Regions from separate parts of the Homo sapiens genome. Here region 1 is linked to region 2. The links are contacts of gene promoters, found by promoter capture Hi-C in blood cells and fetal thymus (Javierre and others, 2016). All regions are on one chromosome and are shown on one strand. Each heading gives the region's core, a stretch centred on a gene start or on the middle of the fragment in contact. The rest is flanking DNA. Distances are from core to core; before and after follow the strand shown.

Evidence for each region. The method cuts DNA at HindIII sites, captures the fragments that hold promoters and counts their contacts. A CHiCAGO score of 5 or more calls a contact.
Region 1: a fragment that was not itself captured here is called in contact with the fragment with the promoter of NRXN2-AS1 in region 2 in 5 of 17 cell types (M0 macrophages, naive B cells, M1 macrophages and 2 more); the score reaches 7.4 in M0 macrophages.

The regions. Positions count from the first base shown.
Region 1 is chr11:64,365,303-64,368,121 of GRCh38, forward strand. RPS6KA4 (ribosomal protein S6 kinase A4) reads left to right here. Exons shown (of 17, transcript NM_003942.3): 9 at 1-163. Among named protein-coding and RNA genes, the nearest start is that of MIR1237, 1.9 kb to the right of the region's middle. The HindIII fragment of the contact is 224 bases long and covers 1,186-1,409 here.
Region 2 is chr11:64,642,253-64,645,198 of GRCh38, forward strand. It overlaps NRXN2-AS1 (NRXN2 antisense RNA 1), which reads left to right and starts at 1,597. Exons shown (of 3, transcript XR_001748259.3): 1 at 1,597-2,330. The region is part of intron 17 of NRXN2 (neurexin 2); the gene reads right to left. The HindIII fragment of the contact is 13,173 bases long and covers 1-2,946 here.

The sequences.
Region 1 (2,819 bases), core at 48-2,547, 280 kb before region 2:
CCTCGATTGGGTGGCTCTGGCTGCCAGGAAGATTCCAGCCCCATTCCGGCCCCAAATCCGCTCAGAGCTGGATGTGGGCAACTTTGCGGAGGAATTCACTCGGCTGGAGCCTGTCTACTCACCCCCTGGCAGCCCCCCACCTGGGGACCCCCGAATCTTTCAGGTGAGGGGAAACTCATGGAACCCAGATGCAGGAGAGATGAGATGTTGCTGTCTGCCTCAGCCCTGGCTGGCCCGAGGACACTGCCTAGGCCTTGTGTCCTGATTGGGACTCAGCGTCTCCCCTAGACGTCGCCACTTCAGTGGGACCTAGGGTTGTCAGTCACAGAGACCACCCAGGCAGGATGTGTGTTTGATAGTTCATGGTTTATCTTTAAACCTTCTGTTAATTTCCCTTCTATTCCATCATCTCTTTATTGTTATGTAAAAATATTGTTTGAAATTATTCACTTGCGGCTGGGTGTGGTGGCTCACACCTGTAATCCCAGCACTTTGGGAGGCTGAGGCAGGTGGATCACTTGAGGTCAGGAGTTCGAGACCAGCCTGGCCAACATGGGGAAACCCCGTCTCTACTAAAAATACAAAAATTAGCTGGATGTGGTGGTATGCGCCTGTAATCCCAGCTACTCGGGAGGCTGAGGTGAGAGAATCCCTTGAACCTGGGAGGCGGAGGTTGCGGTGAGCAGAGATCACACCATTGCATTCCAGGTTGGGCGACTGAGTGAAACTCCGTCTCAAAAAAAAAAAAAAAGAGATCTTCACTTTCTCACGTGGACACCTAGGAGGAGATGCATGTTGATATTGTGGCTTTGCATGCCCTTGGCATAGCATGGTACACTCCTGGAGGGTCAGGTCCCCTCCACCGAATTTTTTTTTTTTTTTTTTTTGAGACGGAGTCTCACTCTGTCTCCAGGCTGGAGTGCAGTGGCTAGATCTTGGCTCACTGAAATCTCTGCCTCACGGGTTCAAGCAATTCTCCTGCCTTAGCCTCCTGAGTAGTTGGGACTACAGGCGTGCGCCACCACACCCAGCTAATTTTTGTATTTTCAGTAGAGATGGGGTTTCACCATGTTGGCCTGGATGGTCTCAATCTCTTGACCTTGTGGTCCGCCCACCTCGGCCTCCCAAAGTGCTGGGATTAGAGGCATGAGCCACCATGCCAAGCCCCCTCTACTGAATTTTAGAAGCTTACACCTTTTGGACAAGTCCAAACTCCCTTTGCTTGGGCATTGAGGCCCTTCATGATGTGGTCCTTGCTTAGAACCTTAGCCTCAGTTCTCATCATTTTCCTACTTGATGCTCTGGAGGGCATGATCGAACTGCTCAGAGGTTCCAGAATATACCTCTGTGCCTTTGCACTTGCTGCTCCTGCTACCTGGAGTACATTCTCTACAGCAGTCTACATGGCAAGCTTCTACCCCTCTTTTAGGCCTCCTTGTCTGCTCACCTGGCCCAGGGGGTCACCCTTTCTTTGTGCTGCAGTCCTCTGTGGACAGCATCTCCTTCTGTGCAGTTTATCATGTTGCCATAATGATATTATATCATTATCACTAAATAAACCAGTATGGTTTGTTTAATAGACAGACCAAGTATGGCTGGATAAGTCCCTTCTCTGAAGCTCTTAGAATTGACAACTCTGTGCTTGAATGTCCACATTCCATTCCATTGTCTCACAGCCCTCATGATAAAGTTCTTTCTCTTGAATTGGTAGGTACTTTCATTCATTCATTTAATGATTCAAAAATGTGTAGTGAGTGCCTAAAATATTCCAGGTACGGATCTGGGTACTACATTTTTAGGAGAAGATGACACATAGTTTATTTTTAAAATTATTTTTTAAAATTAATTAATTAATGTTTTAGAGACAGGATCTTGTTCTGTGGCCCAGGCTGGAGTGCAGTTGGGCAACCATGGCTCACTGCAATCTTGAACTCCTGGGCTTGAGTGATCCTCCCACCTCAGCCTGCCCAATAGCTAGGACTACAGGCAAGTGCCACCACTCCCAGATAATTAATTTTTTTTTTTGAGACGCAGTTTCGCTCTTGTTGCCCAGGCTAGAGTGCAATGGCATGATATCGGCTCACCGCAACCTCTGCCTCCCGGGTTCAAGCGATTCTCGTGCCTCAGCCTCCCGAGTAGCTGGGATTACAGGCATGTGCCACCACGCCTGGCTAATTTTTGTATTATTAGTAGAGATGGGGTTTCTCCATGTTGGTCAGGCTGGTCTCAAACTCCTGACCTCAGGTGATCTACCTGCCTCAGCCTCCCAAAGTACTGGGATTACAGGCGCAAGCCACCGTGCCTGGCCACAACACGCAATTAAAATGACCCTTAAAAGCTCCTCAAATTGCCAGGACATGGATCTTTAGGAAAAGCAAAGAATTAACTCTGCCTTCTTTTTGCATTTCTTCAGTAGCTCCCCTTGCAGAAGAAGCCAAAGTCCGGCTTGAAAGGGAGGAATAAGTTTTTTTTCCTCAGCGGATAGAGTTGGATTCTCATAAGCTAAGCGTGAACTCAGGCCACACTTTCAATATATTCATTGGTCCTTTCAGTGCCTTCAGCCCTTGGCACCTGGGGAGGAATAAGTGGTCACTCTGATGAGAAAGTTGGGGTCACAGGCTGGTGGGGACAGACATGGCCCCAAGTGATTATAAAACCAGGTGGAATAAAAAGTGTCCACACATCCTGTGTGTACCAGAATGCAACTGGAACACCCCCCACTGCCCCCTTGTCCAGGGTCTTGCCTTTGCCTGGTTCCCCACCAGAGTCTCCTCACCCGCACCCCCAACCCCCATGCCCATGCCCATTCCCCGGACTCC
Region 2 (2,946 bases), core at 347-2,846:
GAGATAATGAACCAGACCTAGGGGTAAGCAGGTTTAGGTGAGGCCAGGAAGCAAAGTGCTGAAGACAGAGATGAGGGTGATGGGGGAGAGGAGAGATGGAGGCAAGGGTGGGGCTGAGATGATGGGAGCTGGAGATTGGAGGTGAAGGGGCTCCGGGACGCAAAGCAGAGGGGCCAGGCTCGGCGTGCACAGCTGGGGTGGGGCCCGCGGGGGCCCAGCTGCGCACACGGGAAGCGCCCCCCGCCCCCGGGCCAACCGGGTGGCCGGCATCTACAGTGCCACTTACCGTGGCCGCCGCGGGTGAGGAAGGGCATGCGGTTGATGGCGATGGGCACGGTGCCGTGCTTGCTGTGGAAGTGGTGGACGTGGTGGGTGGTGCTGAGGCTGGAGGAGACCCGGGCCCCCTCGGCCGCCCCCAGCAGCAACAGCAGCAACAGCGGCAACAGCGGCAGCAGAGGTGGCGGCGGCGGCGGTGGAGGCGGCGGCAGGGGCCCAGCCAGGGCCGGGGGGCGGCGCGGGCACCCCCCCGGCCCGCTCCCCCCGGGGGGCATTTCGGCCCGGGGGCGACCGCCTCACAGCCCCATGGCCGGGGGCGGGGACGCGGGGCTGCGCAGCCCCGCGAAGCCCCCCTCCGGCTCCGAGCTCCGGGAGCGGGGTAGGGATGAAGCGGAGGTAAACCAGGGCCCAAGCCTCGGTCCGGAGCCAACAAAATCAACTGGATCCCGCCGGGAAATCGGGGGTCCGCGGAGCGGCAACGCCAAGGTCCAGGATGCCTGGGTCCATCGCGAGGAGCTAGGGGTCTCTCTGCATCCCGGCGGGGTCGGAGCGGCGCAGAGGGCCGTCAGAAACCCGGGGGAGCGCCCGGGGGAGGGGGCATGGTGCCGAGTGGAGAGGGAGGGGAGCGCGGGGGCCAAGCAGGGAGGGGAGAGCGAGGGAAATCCTGCGGAAAAACCGAGCTGGGGAGCGGGGCGGTGCGGGCTGGAGGAGAGAAGAGGGACGGAGACCTGGTTCCCCCGAAGGCGGGAGACCGACGGCGACTGGGGCCGGCCGCGCCGCTGCTGCCGCTGCCGCCCGACGGAGGCCGGGGGAAAGGAGGGAGCGGCCGGGGGAGGGGGGGGCGGGAGAAGGGGGAAGGGAAGCAAATCCGGGTGAGGGGGGAATGAAGGGATAGGAGAGGAGGGGATAGGAGAGGAGGGGAGCGGGGCTGAGCCGAGGAAAGGCGCGAGCCTGCGAGATTCCGGCGGAGAGATGGAGGCAGCGAAGTGTTGCTGCAGAGGCTGAGAGGGCTGGAAGGGAGAGGGAGGGAGGGAGAGAGGGAGAGAGGGAGAGAGGGAGGGAGGGAGGGAAGGAGGAGAGCGGAGAGGGGAGGGGAAGCGCGGGAGGAGGAGGGGGCAGGGCGGAGGGACCAGAGCGGCTCCCGATCTGCGGGCGGCGCTGGGCAGCTCAGCCGCGCGGCACCTGGCTAGCCCGCTCGGCGCTCTCCTCTCCTCTGCGCGCGCCCGCCCCTCCCCCGCGCCTGGACGCGCGCGCTCCTCCTGCACCCCCCTCCTGGAGAAGGGACCCTGCTGAATAATGGAACGGGATTGAGGCTAGCAAGAGAGGCCACTTTCTTCCTCCCCGCCCACCCCACCCGGATGAACCCCAATAATGCTCTCTGGCACAGCCTGCTGAGATGCCGCGGCGGCCACCTCTGCACCACCCCTCGCAACGCACGTGCACACTGAGATGTGTATCGGCTTGGGTATGGAAACATCCACGTGCCCATATGGGCACAGTGTGCGGGTAGGCACACAGGCTCAGACACATACATGCATGCATGTGCTCACAGACACTGGCACACCAACTTACTCTCAGGGGAGCATATACACATGCTCACAGGGCATACATCCGTGCACACACACGTTTGATCACAGGACATGAATGGCCAACATACACACAGACACCCCTGCTCCCCAAGCTCACCCTCCAAAATAGGGTCCACAGCATACAGTGCACCCAGAGCCTTCGAGGTACTCAGGAATAAGACATGCCACACACGTACAACTCCCCACCACCTCCCCAAAAAGCTGCTCCCCCAGCCCCCTGCACAAGCCTCTCCTGGACTCCTCCAATCCTTCCTCTCCACTACCACTGCCCCTCCCCCAGCCCCAACCTCTCCCTCCATGGGGGGTCTAGAGGACACCTGCCCACTGAGTGTCCCATTTAGGACAAAACCCTTCCTGGGCCACGTATGTCAAGCTGAGGAAACCACTTCTCCTTCAGGATGCCCTCCAATTGGGTTCTGTCCCCCAAACTTTTGGACGCTCTGGAAAGCACCTGTGGCCCCAGAGGTAAGCACAGAGAGACTCCTTTCCCGTCACCGGGTCGTATGCACCAACCTGCTCGGACAGGGGAGAGGGTGGGAAGGCAGAGGGTAGAGGAGGAGGGAAAGGAGGAGAGAGGTGGAGAGGGCACCTGGGGGAGCTGAAGAAACAGTGCAGCGGAGTGAGGAGGAGGGCTGGGTAAGGAAAGGACAGGAGGCAGGGGCGGGTGAAGTGAGAAAGGGGAGGGCTGGGAGAGAGGAGGCTGGGAGGGGCTGGAGAGAGCTGGCTCCTATTTATTGATTCTAAACTCCATTTGGGAGCAAAAACTGTCACCACGAGCCCCATGTGCCACCCCCAGCTCCAGGATGCAGTCAGGACCCAGGACATCTCCCCAATGCTGCTGCCAGTCCTCCATCCCTACTACATGCCAGAGCTGGATTTGGCCCCCAGGTCTTTAGAAGTGAAGAAAGCGGTCCTCAGAGGCACCCAGAGGAGGCTTCCGGTGGTGCAGGGCCCCGAGCCATGCAGTGCTGGAGGAGAGACTGCATGCCAGGAGCAGGGCTGGGGCCCCCAGAGGCCACGTCCTCCTGCCCTCTCTATCACGTTCTTGGGCCCCTGGATCTGGAATATAGACTGACACAGC